4 separate regions of the Homo sapiens genome follow, and regions 1, 3 and 4 are each linked to region 2. Evidence: promoter capture Hi-C in 16 types of primary human blood cells and fetal thymus (Javierre and others, 2016). All regions are on one chromosome and are shown on one strand. Each heading gives the region's core, a stretch centred on a gene start or on the middle of the fragment in contact. The rest is flanking DNA. Distances are from core to core; before and after follow the strand shown. Region 1 overlaps LYST (lysosomal trafficking regulator). Region 2 holds the start of B3GALNT2 (beta-1,3-N-acetylgalactosaminyltransferase 2). Region 3 overlaps LYST (lysosomal trafficking regulator). Region 4 overlaps LYST (lysosomal trafficking regulator).

Evidence for each region. The method cuts DNA at HindIII sites, captures the fragments that hold promoters and counts their contacts. A CHiCAGO score of 5 or more calls a contact.
Region 1: a fragment that was not itself captured here is called in contact with the fragment with the promoter of B3GALNT2 in region 2 in 3 of 17 cell types (erythroblasts, activated CD4 T cells and megakaryocytes); the score reaches 6.8 in erythroblasts.
Region 3: a contact is called between a fragment that was not itself captured here and the fragment with the promoter of B3GALNT2 in region 2, in 1 of 17 cell types (M1 macrophages). The highest score is 6.1, in M1 macrophages.
Region 4: a fragment that was not itself captured here is called in contact with the fragment with the promoter of B3GALNT2 in region 2 in 1 of 17 cell types (M2 macrophages); the score reaches 6.5 in M2 macrophages.

The regions. Positions count from the first base shown.
Region 1 is chr1:235,735,482-235,741,058 of GRCh38, reverse strand. All of the region lies in intron 31 of LYST (lysosomal trafficking regulator), which reads left to right. It also overlaps the pseudogene LDHAP2. Among named protein-coding and RNA genes, the nearest start is that of GNG4, 88 kb to the right of the region's middle. The HindIII fragment of the contact is 5,542 bases long and covers 286-5,577 here.
Region 2 is chr1:235,500,921-235,506,125 of GRCh38, reverse strand. It overlaps B3GALNT2 (beta-1,3-N-acetylgalactosaminyltransferase 2), which reads left to right and starts at 1,674. Exons shown (of 12, transcript NM_152490.5): 1 at 1,674-1,985. The coding sequence starts at 1,874. RefSeq lists enhancers at 1,076-1,195, 896-1,572 and a silencer at 1,506-2,145. The HindIII fragment of the contact is 19,953 bases long and covers 1-5,205 here.
Region 3 is chr1:235,688,243-235,693,804 of GRCh38, reverse strand. LYST (lysosomal trafficking regulator) reads left to right here. Exons shown (of 53, transcript NM_000081.4): 47 at 319-455. Among named protein-coding and RNA genes, the nearest start is that of GNG4, 41 kb to the right of the region's middle. The HindIII fragment of the contact is 225 bases long and covers 3,726-3,950 here.
Region 4 is chr1:235,656,430-235,661,835 of GRCh38, reverse strand. It overlaps LYST (lysosomal trafficking regulator), which reads left to right. Exons shown (of 53, transcript NM_000081.4): 53 at 1-795. Among named protein-coding and RNA genes, the nearest start is that of GNG4, 9.3 kb to the right of the region's middle. The HindIII fragment of the contact is 3,698 bases long and covers 1-3,541 here.

The sequences.
Region 1 (5,577 bases), core at 1,807-4,306, 230 kb before region 2:
TATATATAACATATCTCAAAAATATATGTGGTCAGTTAAAATAGATAAAAATTATTAATCATTTGGAATAATCAAACCCAAAATACCTAAAAGAATTTCAGAGTGTATAAAGTTTATCACTTCAAGAGTGGTAGTTGGAAAGTTTAAAAGGTACATTAAACCATATTGGAGGGCTGTTTAACAGTTTCTTAAAAAATTAAACATATATTTAACTTGTCACCATGTTACTCCATTTTTAGATATTTACCTGAAAAAGAAATTAAAACATATGTTCATAAAAAAGCTTGTTTAAGAATATCTATGTCAGCCTTTTTCATAATGGCCAAAAACTACAAATATTCAAATGCTTATCAACAGAAGAATGTACAAACACATTGTGATTTCTTTATACCTGTAGAGAGAAATCTGTATAGACTATTCTACAGCACCATATAGACTATTATACAGCTCTAAAAAGGAACAGACTACTGGTACATCTACCATTATGGATGAATCTCAGAAACATTGAGTGGGGAAAGGGACAGCCAAACACAAAGGAGTACAATCTGTGATTCTATTCATCTGAAGGAACAAGCAAAACCAAGATATGACGATAGAATTCAGGACAGTAGTTGTCTCTGTGGAAGGGGGACGGTGAGAAAGGGAATTGACTGGAAAGAGGTTTAAGGGAACTTTCTGGGGTGATAAAAATAAGGTCTTATTTTGAGTAGTGGTTAAATGGATGTATGCAATTGTCAAAACTCATAGAAACACTTAATATATCTATGCTTTATTATATGTAAGTTATACCTCAATAGAGATGAGAGAGGATATATTAAAAAGGATAGGTATCCCCTTTAATACATGGAAAACACATATCATATTAGGAGTCAAAACTATCTGGAAGGAATACTTTTAGGTGCTTTTTCCAGTATTAAGACACTTTCAAGTACACTGAGGGCACTGTCTTCCTTTTCCCAAGACAGAAGCATATTTAGCCTGTATTTTCCTTCTGTGGAGAATTTGAAATGGTGTTTTTTTCTTTCCTTTATACTCAGCAAAGTTGCTATCCATCAAAATTCAACTGCGGTGTTAACAGTCCACTTTTTCTCATACCATCTTCCCTTTCCCACTACTTCGTGTCTGTCAGTGGTATCATTATTGAATTTCAGCTTGAAATTTTTAACTGTGGTTGTCGTTGACTTTTTCTTCTCTTTCTCAATCCATTTCGTCACCAAGGCCAGTTGTTTATTCACCCACGAAGACTGAGGATATTATCTTTAACCTAATAGTTTTAGCAGCCACTGATGATAATTGCCAAGATCCACTTTTTCATTAAAGAGTTACAAAATAGTGATTTCTCTAAGTCTCTCATTCCATCAGCATCTATAAGCTCTGACTTTACTATAGGGAAGAACTTTCCCTTGTCAACTATTTGACTACGTTTTTTTTTTTTTCTATTTTTTTTTTTCACTGTTCAAGGTTTATTGTGGGTTTTAGTTAGTATGACACTTGGATAGTTGGTTGCATTGTTTATATGTAGATCTCTTTACATAATATGGTAATGTACACTACTGATATATATAGTTCACAAAATAAGATCCTTTGGAACAATTATGCACCATACATGCAATATTGGATTTATATACTGGATCCAGGATGTGACTGATTGGGAAAAAATGTTGGACTAGACATGTTCAATGAAGGAGCCAGGAAGTTATTTATATAACACACGGTAAACATCCATCTGGCTCAAGGGCCAACTGCAGCATGTGCAGCATTGGCAGTGGTGCCTTAGAGGTGTCAGAACTATTTCACACAAACCAGTTTAGGACTACACAAGATTAGTACCATCCAGCCTACAGAATGGTACTACAAGTTATAGCTACCTACAGGATATAGTACCTACAGAATATACTGTAGGATTTTACAAACCATTCCTATTTCTAACCTTAGGAATTGATGTTTTTCCCAATCCATCTTAACATCACTGCTTTAATCACAGATCAGATAAAAAGGACAATATGCACAACCTCCAACTAAAATCCTATTGTAGCCTAGACAGTGAAATAGTATGACATCAGAAGACTTTAAAATTGCAGCTCTTTTTGTATCCCCCAAAGTGGATCTGCACTGTTCTTCAAATGGGCCCCTTCCTCAGGAGTCAGAGTCACCTTCACACGGTCTGAGATTCCATTCTCTCCCAAGATGCAAGGAATGCTAAGGAAGACATCATCCTTTATTCCACCAATCATGGTGGAAATTGGGTGCACCCGCCTAAGATTCTTCATTATACTTTCTGCCAAATCTGCCACAGAGAGTCCAATGGCCCAGGATGTGTAGCCTTTGAGTTTGATCACCTCGTAAGCACTCTCAACCACCTGCTTGTGAACCTCTTTCCACTGTTCCTTATCTATGTCAGTCCCTAAATCTGGGTGCAGAGTCTTGAGGGAGACACCAGTAACATTTGCTTTACTCCATACAGGCACACTAGAATCTCCATGTTCCCCAAGGACTCACCCATGACAGCTTAATGTGTGAACTCCCAGCCTTTCCCCCATTGGGTAACGGAATTGGGCTGAGTCCAGATTGCAACCACTTCCAATAACATGGTTTTTGGGAAAGCCATTATCTTCCAAGCCACTATAGGTCAAAGATATCCACTGGATTTGAAACAATAAGCAACTTGCAGTTCGGGCTGTATTTTACAACATTAGGAATGATGAATTTAAAGATGTTCACATTACACTGGACCAAATTAAGATGGCTTTCTCCCTCTTGCGATGTGCCTCAGCCGTGATAGTGACCAGCTTGGAGTTTACAGTTACAGTATAGTCTTTGCCAGAGACAATCTTTGGTGTTCTAAGGAAAAGGCTGCCATGGTGGAGATCCATCATCTCGCCCTTCAATTTGTCTTCCATGACATCAACAAGAGCAAGTTCGCCTGCCAAGTCCTTCATTAAGATACCGATGGCACAGGCCATGCCAAGAGCACCAACCCCAACAACTGTAATCTTATTCTGGAGGATCTGTTCTTCCTTTAGAAGACTGTGAATAAGCTGATCCTTGAGCGTATACTTGAGAGTATATTGGACTTGGAAACAAAAGGAATCGAGAATGCACGTCCGGCGGGTGTTGGGGCACGCGGCAGTGAGATCCAGACTCGTCGGCAGCGGCTCCAGCACCTTCGCTACCTTTAAATACAGTCAGTCAAGGAAAAGCAGGATAAATGCTGTTTCCTTCCCTGTTTATTAATTTTTGGAATGATGAATTCATGCCCCTAGTAGCCTCTAATTCTTGTATTTGTTTTTATTTTTGGAGTGTCATTAGGAGCTCAGGTATTTTAAAATAAATGTTATGTGTTTTAGTCTATTGCAGTCATTATTCAGTTTGATATTAAAATTAACACCTCTGTAGATTCAAGTTGTTGTGTCGACATGGCCTTTTTCATTTTAACAAGTTAATATGATTAAACTTCCTTGTTTTCTGGCACAGAAGAATGTCCCAGGCCCACCTTATGCAATTCCTTCCCCAAACCTAGAACCTAACTTCCCTCCCAAGAAGACCTTATATCCTTTTAAGGAGATGATAGTATTTAGAGACTACAAATCTAAGGACTAGGTATGTTTATTTCTCCTGGGTTGTCATTTCTTCTCAGCCTTTTTTAGTGGACAAAGCTAGGAAATAAGTATTTTTTTAGAAAGACAAGTCATGAGTTTATACTTTCACTTTTTCTTGGATTCTTTTATTTGTATTTCTTACTAATGTTGATATCTTGGTTCCTAACATTAACATAATCACTTATTTGCCTTGTCTTTCTACATATATAACATTTTCAAAATAAGATGATCAACATGATCACTAATAACAATCCTGCTGAGTGCAGTTGAAGATGTCTTTGTGGTTCTTTTTTTCTTAGCATACTATTATGGTTATACAGTGAAAATACTGTATTATAAAAGCACTTAAAATAGTTTTCTTTATTTGGTCAGGCTGCCAACTTCAACCAATTAGATAGGTAGGTAGGCTTTTTTTTCCAGTTTGTTTTATAGTTTTTTGGGATTCCTTTGGGTTTTTGTTTGTTTGCTTAATTTTGTTTTTAATCATGTGAAATGTCTACATGGTTCTAAAAGCAACGTTGTGAAACAGCACATTCAGAGAGGTTCTAGCTTTTATCCCTTTCCGCTCCTCTTATTTTTTCCCTCTCTGTGTAGGTAACTGACTTTTTTTTTCTGTTGAAGATACAAGCAAATCTATGTATACATGTATTTACACATGTAAATATTCTGTCCCCTACTTCATAACACAAAGAAAGATAGCAAAGTATACACACTCTTCTGCACCTTACTTTCTTCACTTAGTATATCCTAGAGATCATTATTACATAGTAGTACAGAGTGATCTTCTTTATGCCTTTTCACAGCTGCATACATTTAATTTGTATTTCATTTGGAATGTGCCTGGATTTTTTAAGCCCCAGACTTCTTTGCCATTACAACTTGATTCTGATTAACTCTCCAGCCTGCTGACCCTCTTCTTTTCAAGATAATCATATCTTTGTGTCTTGCAACCTCTTCACATCCTGTTTATTTTTACAGTCATGCTGTTTTATTCATATTGTCCACCAGCACAGAACACCTCTCTCTCCTTTGTCTATCTATATCCTCATTCTATCCATTCATTTGGCCATGACCCAGATCACTCTATACCTTCTTTAAAACCTTTCTCCCTTTCTGTAGTCTACTCAGAACTCTTCCTTCTTAGAACCTTCTTTGAAAAGAAATATTTTACATATTTTAGCACTTTATTATTTTCTAAGGATTCATGTTTAACAGATTCAATTCCTTAAATCAGTTTTTTAAGGGCTGAAAATAAGAGTTTTTTGTTATCTATTCCCAGTGACACCTTTTATAGTCCCTGAAATGATCATCAGTAAGTGATCAGAGGGTATTAAAATGAGATATTAGAAACAACTTAAGCGTTTAAGAAAATCATGTGTTTCCTTTGATATTCACAATGAATAAAAACATTTCTGATAGTTTTTCAAGATAATTTTTGAATGTCATTGAATACCAAACTGAAATATTTTTAAAGTTATATCAAGATCATTACCTTTAAGACACACTTAGGAAAGTCTTTTAGTCATGTACCGTTTTTATTTATTTGCCAACTCTTTAGGCCTTTTACTCACAGAGCTTCTGTTCATTTTTCTCTTTTGGTCAGGTAGCAGCTGTCTCTGACTAATTTAAAATGTTGCATTAAAATGAGCTGTACTATTTTCACCATTGCATATGTTCATCTTTTGCTTTTGGGAAATGACACGATGTGATTCAGCATGTTAATTTAAATATCACCCAAAATGTAATCATTTCCAGATCCATTTGCTGACATTTAATACTATTCACAGTTTAAAATGTCATAAAACTAAATACAGTGATATTTGTGTCAATGCTGATTTTTAAAGTAAAATATATATGTTTAACTTGTTGGCAACATTATTGTCTAAATAATACATACTGTACACAGTAGAATCAGGTGTAATATCTACAGCATGTAAGGGCCACTTAAAAAACCGTGAATGAACGTTTGGTTTAGGTC
Region 2 (5,205 bases), core at 425-2,924:
TTATTTTTTTTTTGTTTGTTTGTTTGTTTTTGAGACAGAGTCTCGTTCTGTCACCCAGGCTGGAGTGCAATGGCGCGATCTCGGCTCACTGCAACCTCCGCCTCCTGGGTTCAAGCGATCCTCCTGCCTCAGCCTCCTGAGTAGCTGGGACTACAGGTGCCCACCACTACGCCAGACTAATTTTTGTATTTTTAGTAGAGACAGGGTTTCACCATGTTACCCAGGCTAGTCTCGAACTCCTGCCCTCAAGTGATCCGCCCACCTCGGCCTCCCAAAGTGCTGGGATTACACGCATGAGCCACGGCGAGCCAAAGTACTTTTTTCCCTTAAGCCTGTTTGAGTTGGGTCTTCTGTCATCCAAGACTTTTTTTCAATAATACAGTCACCTTCTGTTTCCACACTTGTGGAAACTTAAAAAAAAAAAAAAAAAAACCGCGGCCGAGCGCGGTGGCTCACGCCTGTAATCCAAGCATTTTGGGAGGCCGAGGCGGGCGGATCACCTGAGGTCAGGAGCTGGAGACCAGCCTGGCCAACATGGCGAAACCTCGTCTCTACAAAAAAAATACAAAAATTAGCTGGGCGCAGTGGCGGGCGCCTGTAATCCCAGCCACTCAGGAGGCTGAGGCAGGAGAATCGCTTGAACCCAGGAGGCGGAGGTTGCAGCGAGCCGAGATCGCGCCATTGCACTACAGCTTGGGTGACAGAGTGAGACTCCGTCTCAAAAACAAAAGCAGAAACAAAAACCGCCCCATAGCCCAGCCGCTCGTTCTCATCCTTCTCTCCCATCCTCACCCCAGTGCCTTCACCGCCCCGTCCCCGCTTTCCGGCTGCCTCGGCGCGGGCCTGGTGGGCCAGGAGGGCTCCCACCCGGGGCAAAGCCTCAAGACGCGGGGCCGGCGTTCTCCCTGGAAGGCTCGCTGCGGCCACCCTTCCCCAGGTCCCCGGAGCCCACGTTCTCCCAGCTCGCCCGGCTCCCGTTTCGCTCCCAGCTCCAGTATGAACCCGGAGCACGTGCAGTTCTACCCTGATTGGCTCGTCATCATCGTGTTCCACAGCCTAGTCCCCAGCTCGCTGTCTGTCACCCTGCGTTCCCAGAGCACAGAACCGGGCAAAGAGCCGGGAACCCACGGCACCAGAGCTAATCCCTGATGAGTCACCGCTCCAGGCGCGGACACTCGGGCTTCCTCGCCCCACTCTACGGGCCAAGGAGACGTCAGCAGGATCCCACCTCCCACAGCAGTCGAGCAAGAGAGCACGCGGAACAAAGGAGCTCTGCGTGATTTCACACAAGAGCCACTCGGATTTCCTTCAAATCTGAGGCAAAGCGCATTTCCCTTCGCGGCTCCGGGCAGCCTCCGAGCACCGGGTCTCCGGCACTACCTCCCCTGGGCCGTGGGGTGGCAGCAAACGTCAAGGGGGATGCGCATGCTCTGTGTGGGGCCTCGCCCTTCGCCCCCGCGGCCGCCGAGTGACGGAAGCGCGTGCTTAGGCTCATGGGAAATGTGGTTTCTAAACCGCGGGCGCCCCCTGCCTGGGCCCAGAGCGGGACTTCAGCTCCCGGCCGGCTGGCTGGCGCGTGTGGAAACGCGGGAGGAGAGGGCGGGGCGAGTGGGAGAAAAGGTGGGCGGAGCCGGTGGGAAGGCCAGGCGGAGGGGGCGGGGCTTCGGCCGGCTAAGCCGCGGCCACCCGCGGTCTGAGGGACCGGAGGAGCGGGGCCGGGAGCTGCGAGGAGCCCCCCAGACGTCGCCGAGCGCGAGGGCGGGCGTGCTCGGAGTGGTCGCTCGTCAGCCGCCGCCCCTCAGTCTCCGCACTTGCAGGTCCCCTCCCTCTCCGCCGGGACGCGGGAGAGCCCGGCTCGCGGCGGGGGCGGCCAATGCGAAACTGGCTGGTGCTGCTGTGCCCGTGTGTGCTCGGGGCCGCGCTGCACCTCTGGCTGCGGCTGCGCTCCCCGCCGCCCGCCTGCGCCTCCGGGGCCGGCCCTGCAGGTGAGGTCCTGGGGCCGGGCGGGTTGGCGGCCGCCGGGGGGGTGGGAGGCCCGGCTTGGTGCCGCGGGGCTTCGCCGGGAATTGTTGGAGGCGGGGGAAGGGCCAAACGCGACGGTCCCCAGACGAAACAAACGGCTCTTTTCATCCTTGGAGCGTTAACATCGGGCAAACTTGAGGGAGCTTTTCTCTTTTCGTGTCCCCGCCTCTTCTCACTTCCCCGTTTCCCTTAACGCCCGCAGAGCCGGCGCCCGCAGTTGCAAGTCCTTCGCCTGTCCCCAGGCCTGGTTAGTGATGTCCGACGCCGCCCGTTCGCCCGGGAGCGGAACCTCGTGTGCCCTTCAGCCGCCAGCGCTTTCTGCTTTGGGAGCTCTGGCTCTGAAGTTGTTTTCTTCCCCCCCAAGTTGTTGGTCTTTCTCGGTCAAGACTGGGGTTTTAGTGCCGTGGATAATGTGTGTGCGTGTTTTCAAAGGTGGCTCGGTTTTGCTTTTAAGGAATAACTTTGCTGTAAGAATATACTGTAGTTCGTATTCTTGGATTATGATGTAAGTCGGTTAAACAAATCTAGACATGAAATAGGGCATGGCCGAGAGTTGGAGTTGTTCCTGTGAGTTTGGATCGCATAACCTGCTAATGCAGTTTACATGGAAATATCAAATTCTTTAACGATCGTGTCCATTTGCTCTAAAACTTAATCTCTCGTAGGAATGAAACCTTTGTTCTTGTTTCGCGTCACAGCCTAATAGAATGCTTTACTTACGGTGCCCAGCGGATTGTTTTGTTAGTGGGTTCCACCACCCTGAACACTACTTTAGCTTTCCCTGTATCTCTTGTCTTCTTCTTTAAGGGCTTGCCCTAGAACATGAAAGAAACCTAGAAAGCTCTTTTAAATATTATGTAATACTTAATTTTGTAACTATACTGGGACTTTTTTCCCTTACCATCTCTCCCCAAAACAGCTGTTTTCTAATCCAAAAGTTCTTAAAATTAGAATTGAGTGTTTGCAGTTCAGCACTCTATGCCTTATAAGTAGAAAGTATTCGGCAATCCTCAAAACAGTCTCAGTTATATGAAATTATGTTGAGGTTATTTTGGTAACAATCTCTTTTCCTATTAGATCACTAGCTCTTTGAAAAGGATTTGTGTGACCTGAATAGAATTAAACACTATTTAAGTGATTTAATGAAAGTACAGTGTTGCTATGCACTTAACCAGTTGATGGGGTCAGGGTTTTGCTCAGTGTTTTTTAGGTTTTTGTGAAGTGAACTAAGAAGAGAACGCCATATATAAAAAATGCTTTGTAACAGCTGCTTGTGTGTTACAGGTTTCTCTCTTTTGTTATGAGTGAGCCCTGCTGGAATCTCCTTGTAGAGCGTCATTAAGTCTGTTTATGGCCTTAATGGTTGTTTAGGGTTCAGTAAAACAAACAAAAACTGAAATGTTAGTAGACTTCAAACTGAAATCTTAGTAGACTTGCTAGGCAGTTTTCTAGTTTGAGACAAGTTTTTCCTACTCCCTTACTGCACTTGAAGGATGATGCCTTTATCTGCCATCCAGTAGTTAGACCAGGCTAGATTAAGGAAATGAAGAAGTAGACCATAGAAAGGAACAGGGTAATAACGTAGGTAAGAAGATCAATACTAGTTATGTTAATTAACTTTGGCTTTGAATGAGTACTGTGTATCTGGTCAGATAATAAATGGGATTTTTTTTTAAGTTCCGGGATACGTGTGCAGGACGTGCAAGTTTGTTACATAGGTAAACGTGTGCCATGGTGGTTTGCTGCAGCTGTCAACCATCGATATTTTAATAATCTAAGTTAAACATGACTGGCCCGGCGCGGTGCCTCACGCCTGTAATCCCAACACTTTGGGAGGCCGTGGTGGGTGGATCACCTGAGGTCAGGAGTTCAAGACCAGCCTGGCCAACATGGCGAAACCCCGTCTCTACTAAAAATACAAAAATTAGCCGGGCATAGTGGTGCATGCCTGTAATCCCAGCTACTAAGGAGGCTGAGGCAGGAGAATCACTTGAACCTCGGAGGCGGAGGTTGCAGTGAGACGAGATTGCGCCACTGCACTCCAGCCTGGGTGACAAGAGCGAAAGTCCATCTCAAAATAATTAATTAATTAATTAAACAAGACTGACTCCTACCTTTCCTTTTTTCCTTTTGGTACTTTCAAAGCTAAAAGCAGTGGAAGCATCTTAAATGCTAAAATTTCCCATAATTCCTTTACCATTGTGCTGTCACCATGTTGAAACTAAAATAGTTGGGTGTTTTTACATTTTAACCCTTGTACTTTAAGCCTAACAGGAGAAAAAAAAACCCAAGATTTTGCTAAGTATTCTTTTCTTGAATTAACATTTTTAAATGTATTTTTTTTTCTCTTCTGCTGCTTTGTCTGTCTTCAGTCTCATTAAGTAATGGCAGTTTCTTTGTTTTTTTTGAAAGAGCGATTTACCTTCCCTGAATATTAAAAAAGGTTCTTTGGCTCGCAGTTGATTCAGCAAATATTTGAGAGCCTACTCTGTGCCAGCTCCTATCGTAGGTGTGGAATTACAGCAGTAATCAAGCTAAACTTCCTGCCCTCATGTAGTTTACAATTTAGAAGGGAAGACAGAGCATCAGGAAATAATTATAAATATCACAGCGGTAGTGATAAGTATAGGGAAAAAAGATAAAGCAGTGTTAAGAGATTAAAGAGATGGTTTTAAATAGGTCAGGGAAGTCCATTCCATTCTGAAGAGGTAACAGTTGAGCAGGGACCAGAATGAAGTAAGTGAGTCACCTTAGTACCAGAGTCAGCAACTTTTTTAATGTGATAGGTTCCCTTAAACCAGTCAGGGAAAGCAACTGGTAAAGAGGAAGTGAAATCCAGTACACCTGAGGGTGACAGAGGAAAATGCAGGTGGAGATAACCATCGGACTAAGGAATCTAAACATAGGATATCTTGATTACAAAATGCTCGTTTTGGGTAATGCCTTAAGTAGGAATTATTTAACGGTTAATTTAGAAAAATGATGTGACAAAAGAAGGCTTCGCTTTCTAGGGTATCTGGAAAGAAAGAAACCAAAACAAAGGAGCATATTCACTCAACAAGTACTTGAGTGTTAGATTCTGTGCTGGATGCCTAGTCCCTTCTCCCAAGGTGCTCACAGTATCTAATGGAAACAGATGTAGAGCAAGTAGAAGGTCAGAAAACAAATTGAGCTTGCTTTGTA
Region 3 (5,562 bases), core at 2,589-5,088, 190 kb before region 2:
GTGTCTCAGAACATGAATAGAGTAAGCTTCACTATTACTGTCTTTTATAATAATTTCTTAACAGAAATTTTAGTTCTGAGTCAAACAAATCCCAGTCAAAACAACACAAGTGAAAAAATATAATCCCACCCTGAGAACCCTGTTAGCATTAAAGGAATAAAACTAAAAAATTGTTCCATTTTAGAGATTTAAAGATGGTCTTGCACCAAATGATATGTTCTGCTATGTAAACTTCACCCTTTAATCTGCCAGTTTTGGGCTGTCATGTAACAGTCGAGCAGTGACAATCTGATACTTTTCTTTCTCCTTCTCCTTGAGGTGTGAGAAGCATGAACAGTACGGACATTCAGTGGTCAGCCATCCTGAGCTGGGGATATGCTGATAATATTTTAAGGTTGAAGAGTAAACAAAGTGAGCCTCCAGTAAACTTTATTCAAAGTTCACAACAGTACCAGGTAAACACTTTATTTTATTTTATTTATTTATTTTTAAGACGGAGTCTCACTCTGCCGCCCAAGCTGGAGCGCAGTGACACATCTTGGCTCACTGCAAGCTCCACCTCCCGGCTCACGCCATTCTCCTGCCTCAGCCTCCCAAGTAGCTGGGACTACAGGCACCTGCCACCACGCCCAGCTGACTTTTTGTATTCTTTTAGTAGAGACGGGATTTCATCGTGTTAGCAAGGATGGTCTCGATCTCCTGACCTTGTTATCTGCCCGCCTTGGCCTCCCAAAGTGCTGGGATTACAGGTGTGAGCCACCACACCTGGCCAACTTTTTTTTTAATTTTAGAGTGTCGCTCTGTTGCCCAGGCTGGAGTGCAAAAGCACACTCTCAGCTAACTGCACCCTCCACCTCCCAGACTCAAGTGATCCTCCTCCCTCAGCTTCCCAAGTAGCTGGGACTACAGGTGCGTGCCACCATGCCTGGATAATTTTTATATTATCTGTGGAGATAGGGTTTCTCCATGTTGCCCAGGCTGGCCTCAAACTCCTGGACTCAAATGATTCACCCGCCTTGGCCTCCCAGAGTGCTGGGATTACAGTGAGCCACTGTGTCTGGCCCATGTAAACGTTTTTGTGGTATCTTTATAATGGTTAATGCATAAAAATGAGTCAGACTGGCTGGGCACAGTGGCTCATGCCTGTAATCCCAGCACTTTGGGAGGCTGAGGCGGGCAGATCGCCTGAGGTCAGGAGTTCAAGACCAGCCTGGCCAACACGGGGAAAACCCATCTCTACTAAAAATACAAAAAAAATTAGCCAGGCATGGTGGCACATTCCTGTAATTCCAGCTACTCAGGAGGCTGAGGCAGGAGAATCGCTTGAACCCAGGAGGCAGAGGTTGCAGTGAGCCAAGATCACGCCATTGCATTCCAGCCTGGGTGACAAGAGCGAGACTCCATCTTAAAAAAAAAAGAGTCAGACTGATAGCAGCTAGGTTGGTTGGTTGGTTGGTTGGTTGGTTTGTTATGAGATGAAGTCTCGCTCCATCGCCCAGGCTGGAGTACAGTGGTGTGATCTGTGCCCACTGCAACCTCCGCCTCCCGGATTCAAGCAATTCTCCTGCCTCAGCTTCCGAAGTAGCTGGGACTACAGGCATGTGCCACCACACTTGGCTAATTTTTGTATTTTTAGTAGGGACGGGGTTTCACCATGTTAGCCAGGTTGGTCTCGAACTCCTGACCTCAGGTGATTCTCCCGCCTCAGCCTCCCAAAGTGCTGGGATTACATGCGTGAGCCACTGTGCCCAGCCAAGCAGCCAGTTTTTAATATCCTGCAATTTGTCCAGTCAAGAATCTGATGTTAGGCTGGGCATGGTGGCTCACGCCTGTAATCCTAGCACTTTGGGAGGCCAAGGTGCGGGGATCACCTGAGGTCAGGAGTTCGAGACCAGCCTGGCCAACATGGTGAAACCCTGCCTCTATGAAAAATGCAAAAATTAGCCACGCATGGTGGTGGGCACCTGTAAATCCCAGCTACTCGGGAGGCTGAGGCAGGAGAATCACTTGAACCTGGGAGGCAGAGGTTGCAGTGAGCTGAGATCGTGCCATTGCGCTCCAGCATCAGCAACCAGAGCAAAACTCCATCTCAAAAAAAAAAAAAAGAGAGAATCTGATGTTTATAGTACTTACAGACTTCCTAACTACCACTATTTGTGTCCCCCAAATTTGTTTTCTACCCATTTTCTCATTGAGAGAATATTATCAAAATCTCCTGCTCAACATCAGTGAAGGGCATAGTGTTTGAACCAAATCAGCATTGCCTTCTTCTCAGTGTTCACTCACCTTTGTCATTAGGTCATTTTCTGTAACCATAGTGCCATCTTTTATACCTGATTTTTCCTAAATGGACTGGTTATTCAGACATCATGTATAGTAGAAAGAACATTGGGCCTAAAGCCCTGTGATCTTTGTTAGTGTCCCAGCTTCGTTATATACTAACTGCAGCCTTTGACTAGTAACTTAATCTCTCCAAACTTGAGTTTCTTTCCTCCTCATTACAACCAAGATAATAGTACTCACACTTCTTTCTCAGAAAGCTGCTGTAAAATGTTTCCAGTGTTTGTGAAAGAAACTTGTAAACTGTAGCCAGGCGCGGTGGCTCAAGCCTGTTATCCCAGCGCTTTGGGAGGCCGAGGCGGGCGGATCACAAGGTCAGGAGATCGAGACCATCCTGGCTAACACAGTGAAACCCCGTCTCTACTAAAAATACAAAAAAAATTAGCTGGGCGTGGTGGCGGGCGCCTGTAGTCCCAGCTACTCGGGAGGCTGAGGCAGGAGAATGGCGTGAACCCGGGAGGCGGAGCTTGCAGTGAGCCAAGATTGCACCACTGCACTCCAGCCTGGGCAACAGAACGAGACTCTGTCTCAAGGGAAAAAAAAAAAAAAGAAACTTGTAAACTGTAAAATACCATGTAAATATACAGTATGCTGCTGCAACCGTTCCAGACTGTAAATCGTATGGACAGCCTTCTTTTTTGACTCTCTTTCCATGGGAAGTTCTCTTACCATTCATCCTCTGATTTCCATTACCTGCATAACACCTGCTGCCTTATCATGTGTCCTAAAATGTATCCCATTCCCTGAGCTCTTTAGAAATGGAGGAAGCTACTTAGGGGAATGTTTAGCAGTGAAAGCAAGAGGAGCAGTGCCTTGTTTGCATAACCCTCAATATCCCTGACCAAAATATTGCCACCATTTGTTATATAGCTTACCAGGAAACTGACAGAAGTAAGAATAAAGAGACAGTGAAAAACAACTTTACTAGGAACTTTAATAAGATTTTTTTTTTAGTTTTGAAACATCAGGCTGCATTAACCAGAGCCTTTGTATGCAGATAGAAATATATATATCCAAACACAAACAAGTTATAACCATAAATCATGGCAAAGCTTGTAGTATAACTAAATTGGAAATGAGTCTACAAAATAAATGAAAACACAAAAACATATTATAGAATCAGTATGTCCCTTACTGCACCCTTTTTGGGATTATTATAAATTGGGAAAAACAGACAAATATGTACAGTGGGAGTTAGATATACAATACATTCTACCTGTCAAAATACACTGACACAAATTTATGAGCAGATTTAACTCATTGCTGTCATCAGTAATCTGTATTTACAAACATCTTGACTTTCCAATGAAAAGTGAAGAAAAATGAAATCATCATCAGTATTAATTGAATGTTTTCAACGCAATGTTAAAGATATAACATAAGCTTTCAATCAAATTCTTTACACCTTTAATTACTAGGCATTCCTTCTATTTAAGAGTTGGGTACTGTTACATTAGATTGATGTGGTGTGAAGAGAGGACAAAGATGAACAAATAACTTTAAAGATGCTTTCCGATTCACTAATTTATTTTCACCAGTACAAAGACAAGCATTTAGTCAAATTGTTTTTGCCAAGTAAATTGACTTGTTAGTTTAGCAGATCCAAAGCTTGAATAAAGTTGTTTAAAATTCTTATTTTTATTTTTTTCTAGCTTTATTGGGATAAAATTGACAAATAAAATTGTATATATTTAAGGTATACAATGTGATGTTTTAATACATGTATATATACATTGTGAAATGATTACTACAGTCAGGCTAATTAACACATTCGTCACCTCACATAGTTAGCATTTTTTACGTGTGTGATGAGAATATTTAAGATCTACTATCTTAGCAAATTTCAAGAATACAACACAGTATTATTAACAGTAGTCACCATCCTCTACGTTAGATCTCCAGAACGTAATCATCCTGCACAACTGAAACCTGTACCCTTTGACCACCATCTCTCCATTCCACACACATTACCAGCACTCTCAGCCCCTGGCTACTGCTACTCTACTCTCTGTAGTTCAGCTTTTTTTAGATTCCACATAGGAGCAGGATCATACAGTATTTGTCTTTCTGTGCCTGGCAGATTTTACTTAATACAGTGTCCCCCAGGGTCATTTGTGTTATCACAAATAACAGGATTTCCATCTTTTTAAAGGCTGAATAATATTTCATGTATATAAAAGAATTTAAACATTGCAAAATTATTTGTATCATAATAGATGAAAATAAAGATGAAAGAACACTATCACAAGTCCTGTTAGCAAAACAAGATGTGATGACATTGTGTGATACTTTGAGTCAAATGACTAAACTGGATGAGAATACTATATTGCATTTTCATCTAGAGATACATTTCTAAAGATATATTTTTGTTCACCCATTAATTCTTTGATTTGAGAAAATTCAGCTAGGATATTATTGTTGTTGTTGTTGTTGTTGTTATTATTATTATTATTATTATTATTATTATTATTATTATTATTTGAGACGGAGTCTCACTCTGTTGCCAGGCTGGAGTGCAGTGGTGCGATCTCGGCTCACTGCAACCTCCCCCTCCTGGGTTCAAGCGATTCTCCTGCCTCACCGTCCCTAGTACCTGGGACTACAGGTGCGTGCCACCACACCCAGCTAATTTTTTTGTATGTTTAGTAGAGACGGGGTTTCACCATGTTAGCCAGGATGGTCTCGATCTCCTGACCTCATGATCCGCCCGCCTCGGCCTCCCAAAGTGCTGGGTTACAGGCATGAGCCACTGTGCCCAGCCAGGATTTTGTTATATAAAGACTCACGCTCTGAGATTTCACTTATATGATCAATTTCATCATCATCAGTAGAGTCTAGAGTCCTGACGGCTGTGTGCCTTCATGTTGTGATTAGTCTCATAATTGTGAAACATCTTCCTCTGTCAGCTTTCTTGGTAGAAAATGAAAAATTCTGAATTCTCCACCGTGTTCAATGAAAGCCAAAAGTAGACTACAGAAGTGGTGTCTCCAGCCTTCTTTTATACTTTCCTGAAAGATGACACTATACTTTGGACAATGCAATAAGAAAACCAAAAGATGACGATTTAGTTCACATATTAGATTATCCTCTTGGGAGATTCCATCATTCTCCCATTTCCTTGCTTGTTTGTTTGTTTTTTGCGTATTTAGGAATAATTGATGAGTAGTGATGAAATAATTTTTAGAATGATGAAATCGCTAAATGTTTCAGGATATAGAAAAA
Region 4 (5,406 bases), core at 443-2,942, 160 kb before region 2:
GCCGTCTGTCTCTCCCATATGATGGCTGTCTGTATATTTTTACTTGGGGTGCTGCTTTATTGGCTTTGAAAACACTGTCAGATAAGCTCAGTAATATGTTACCATGGGATAAAAATATGTATCCCTGCCTAAGAATAACTTGTGCATTTGTTATGGAAATTTAATTCATATGGTGTTTACAGTACTACTTTTGTAACTTCCAGACTTTCTAAAACATTCTGCTTAAAAACCATATAAAATATAATTCCAAAGTCTCTGCTGTCAAGATAGATTCGAGAGAAAGCACGTGGCCATGTATGCTTTAACCTTAAACTGCATACACATGTAGTGATACCTAGGCTGCATTTAGATCACCGTGTGCTCAGGCCAGGTGTGAATCCTGAGGTCCATGGAGGTGCAGAGATGAGATTACTCCTATTCACGTTGAAGTGATTTGCTTTGTTAACAAAAAATTGCAGCTATTGTCTAGCTTTCATTTTTTTACTGAGAACTTTAAATTAGTCCCCTATTAGAATAGGGTTGCTACTCATCTTTTTTTAAAAACCGAATTTCATCATTTATCTAAAGAGAAAATATGCAGAATAACTGGTCTTGTTAAGAGTGCAATATTATATTTTTATGTAAAAATAAAAATTAATTTGGGGGGATTATTTATTCAGCATGAAACCTAATATGTATATGTTTGAAATACTTCATAATGTGCATGTTGTAGCAAACATTTCTGTAAATTATCACAAGCTCTGTTACCTTTATATACACTGCCTCTTCAATTTGGAAATAAATTTCATAAAAATAGATGTAAACACCTCTTCTTTAAGCTATTTAAATATTATGAGCAGATCTCAAATCGATGGCTTTCTGTGTAACCCACATAGGTTCTGTCTTTAGCTCCACTATGCATTTATATCACTAGAAAAAGATAACTTTCTTTTTTTTTTTTTTTTTTGAGATGTAGTTTAGCTCTGTCGCCCAGGCTGGAGTGCAGTGGCACGATCTCAGCTCACTGCAACCTCCGCCTCCCAGGTTCAAGCGATTCTCCAGCCTCAGCCTTCCAAGTAGCTGGGACTACAGGAGTGTGCCACGACGCCCGGCTAACTTTTTTTTTTTTTTTTTTTTTTTTTGTATTTTTAGTAGAGACGGGGCTTCACCGTGTTAGCCAGGATGGTCTCAATCTCCTGACCTCGTGATCCACCTGCCTTGGCCTCCCAAAGTGCTGGGATTACAGGTGTGAGCCACCACGCCCGGCCTAACTTTCATTTCTTATTGTGGTTTTTGTACTAAAATTTTATGTTTCAACCTTTACTACCCTTAGATGGTGTGGACACTAGTCCCAAGATCAAACCGCTCATTTTAAAGAAAAAACCATCTGCCCACCCCCGACCCCACAGCAGATCTATATTGAGCCCTTGCCAGGTGCCAGGCACTGTACCAAGTGCTGAGGATATCGTGCTGCACAAAGCACGGTGGTCCCCTGCACTCCTGGAGGTTACAGGCTGGTGGAGAAACCACCATAAATAACACACAATATGTACAGTTACAAACCATGGTAAGTGTTAGGTAAAATATAGGGTACTCTGAAAGAATGTAAGAGGAAGGACTTTATTTAGATTGAGGTGATCTAGAAAGCCTCTTGAAAAATTGAAATTTTTGGTGAGGCGTGGTGGCTCATGCCTGTAATCCCAGCACTTTGGGAGGGTGAGGTAGGCAGATCACTTGAGATCAGGAGTTAGAGACCAGCCTGGCCAACATGATGAAACCCCATCTCTACTAAAAATACAAAAATTAGCAAGGCATGGTGGTAGGCGCCTGTAGTCCCAGCTACTTGGGAGGCTAAGGCAGGATAATTGCTTGAACCTGGGAGGCAGAGGTTGCAGTGACTGAGATTTTGACACTGCACTCCAGCCTGGGCAACAGAACGAGACTCCGTCTCAAAAAAGAAAAATTGAAATTTCTGTTGAAACCCAATGAATGATCGGAAATTTGGTGAAGATGGGGGCAGATGTGTTCCAGATAATACATGTTCAATAACTGGGGCAGGAACATCAGCAAAGGCCCAGGGAAGGAAAGAACATCCTGTCCCTGTCTCAGCTTCTTGGTGGGTGAGGGTGGGAGTGAAAACGGTGGGTGACGTCAACAACAGCAGTCCAAGGGCCCGAGGGCTGCCCTTCTTTCTGCTTTGCATCTGTGGTATTTTAAGATTCTCAAGACTACAGCATTCCTGTTCCTAGGTGTCTGTCCCAAAGAGAACTGAGCAGTAGCATTTTGTCGGTGTGAGCCTGCCAACCCAGATGTCCCCTCTTTACCTGAAAGTCTCAGTTGGACTCACCCTTTCCACAATGTTCACTGAACGCCAGTTCTGTGCAAGCCCGAGGCTAGAGGCTGGGTGGGGAAGGGAGGGGAGCGGGATTCTTTCCAGCTCGAAAGAGCTCATGCAGCGGGCGCAGTGGCTCATGCCTGTAGTCCCAGCACTTTGGGAGGCTGAGGTGGGCGGATCATGAGCTCAGGGGCTCCAGGCTAGCCTGGCCAACATTGTGAAACCCCATCTCTACTAAAAAATACAAAAATTAGGCAGGCGTGGTGGCACGGGCCTGTCATCCCAGCTACTGGGGAGGCTGAGGCATGAGAATCGCTTGAACCCAGGAGGCAGAGGTTGCAGTGAGCACTGCACTCCAGCCTGGGCGACAGAGCAAGACTCAGTCTCAAAAAAAAAAAACAATTAAAAAAAAAAAGAGCTCATGCCTGGTGACCTGCTTCTCACTATTTTGGATGACGTGTTTATGTTCTGAGGGGAAAAGCAAAAAAAAAAAGCTACAAGGCCGATTTTTTTTTTTTTTTTTTTGAGATAGAGTTTTACTTTTGTTTTCCAGGCTGGAGTGCAAGGGTGCAATCTCGGCTCACTGCAACCTCCGCCTCCCAGGTTCAAGTGAGTCTCTTGCCTCAGCCTCCCCAGTAGCTGGGAATACGGGCGCCTGCAGCCTCGCCCAGCTAATGTTGTATTTTTAGTAGAGACGAGGTTTCACCATGTGGGCCAGGCTGGTCTCAAACTCCTGACCTCAGGTGATCCACCTGCCTCGGCCTCCCAAAGTGCTGGGATTACAGGCGTGAGCCACTGCACCTGGCAAGGCCAACGTATATAAAAATGAGAGGAAACAAACTCAACGAGTGAACATTTTTTATCAGTAATTGCAGAACAATGGGAGTTCTTGGATTATGCATGTTGCAGGCCCTCTTTGCTGATTATCCTTCAGGTGTCCCCAGTTTGTCCCAAACTGTCTCACATCTTGGTCAGCTATATTATTTTTTCATTGTACTCCTTCTCAGGATAACACTCCATGTACTATGAAGCCAAAGCACTTTAAAACCTAATGAGCTTAAAACCTTGAAGCAGAAAGACCAACTGAAAAGCATTAGCAGTTGGAGGGTAGATGGGAAGGAAACAAAACAACTGCTACTGGAGAGAACAATTCACCACTGAGGTCAAAGGTAGCAAAAGAGCTTGTAGGTTGAGCACAAACTGGTATTGTGGAGTATTGCAAAAGCTTCATGTTGCATGCAGGATTTCCCCCAGTCGTTTTCAACTGCACAATTAAGGCAGCTACATTTGCCGATACCAAACATATACACGTATATGCACATTGAGTTGAGAAAGAGGTGCCACCTATATCATGTGTCATGTGACAACAGAAAACTATATCTTGCCACTTTGGGGACACTGGGTTGCAACTCAGCTGTTTGAGAGAAATTAAATAATACAGTGTGTCCTTTGAGGCCAAAATGACTAGAAGATCATTTGAGACTAGGCTACAATATTCCTGCTCAAGAGCTGAGTTCGTTTCTTCCTTCATGAAGGAAGTTAATGAGAGATGAGTTTGAAAAAGGTTGTCTCGTGGCAAAGTTTGGCTCATTGCCAAAGTAAAGTAAACAGGTCTTACCAAAACTTCTGAAGACTGATGATAATGAACTGGTGTTTCATTCTCAGATTTTAATTTTGTTAAAATAGCTGTAAAAGTCCTTGGAATCCAGTTCCAAGGGTAAATAAAAAAGACTGTCTTTTCTGAGACTTTTAGTAAAAATTAAGCTATAATTTTCATAGTGGTTGATATAATCTAAATACAAATGAGTAATTAGGTAACTTCATTATGTAGTTTCTATACACAATTTTCTGCACAGTAGTAGTTTATTACAACCAAGTAAAAGCCACTTACCTGTGCTCCTACGTGGATATGAATTAGACATGCTATTTTATTTTCTACAACGGTCTGGAGAACAGGGTTAGGAGGTAAAAGGTCTCACAGCCTGAGGTGGAGACTAGAAGAACAGCTGTTTCCACCACCCTTTCCACCATGTGCATTTTTAGACCCAAGCATTGTTTGTTCTCTGTTCCCTGCTGCAGGCATTTCAAAGCCAGCTTCAGCCCCGCCTCACGGATACATGTGCTCAGTGGTGCTGCTCACTGCTTTATGTTTAACTGGTAGTCTCTGCCACTGTGTTCTCCTGAACTTTAAATTTCCTCAGTTATTACAACCAATTATTCGGTATATACTTTGTGTTGGACAATCTTTCTCTTGTGAACATCTATGAGTTTCGAAAACAAAAATCATCAGAGCTGAATCTGAGAAATAGAACTGTTTTCGTCACAAACAAGTTACAGTTACGAGGTACTGAAAAAAAATGTGTGATTCTGCAAGTAATTCCAAAAGAGGAATTTTTTTAAGATTTTGAGCAATGCATAGTATCACTGGAGTAGGGTAGATTAGGTACTTGGGAGAAACGAAGGAAGAAAGCAAGCAAGCGTCACAGGACGGACGGACAGGTACCATGTCTTACTGTTTCTTTTCTTGATTTTTTGTTTGTTTGTTTGTTTGTTTGTTTCAGACAGAGTCTTGCTCTGTTGCCCAGCCTGGAGTGCAGTGGCGTGATCTTGGCTCACTGCAACCTCCACCTCCCGGGTTCAAGAGATTCTCCTGCCTCAGCCTCCCAAGTAGCTGGGATTACAGGTGCGTGCCACCATGCCTGGATAATTTTTGTATTTTTAGTAGAGATAGGGTTTCACCATATGGGTCAGGCTGGTCTCGAACTTCTGACCTCAGGTGATCTGCCCGCCTTGGCCTCCCAAAGTGCTGGGATAGAGGCATGAGCCACCGTGCCCGTCCTTCTTGATCATTTTTAAAAAAACTTCCCAACCCCAAATAAACTACCAAGTCCTGCTTGCTTTTCTTTGTGTTTGGATAACGTCTTTCACAAAAATGAAGCCCACACTAGATTATCTTCACTTACACACTTTCCTTGGAGTGAACTTATTTGACTCCCCTAAAGGGTCTCTTAACTCTTTTCTTGTCCTCCGTTTTAGTAGATTACAGTTCTTCCTTATTTATCTCGGGATAGTTCTTATACAAATATTAAAAC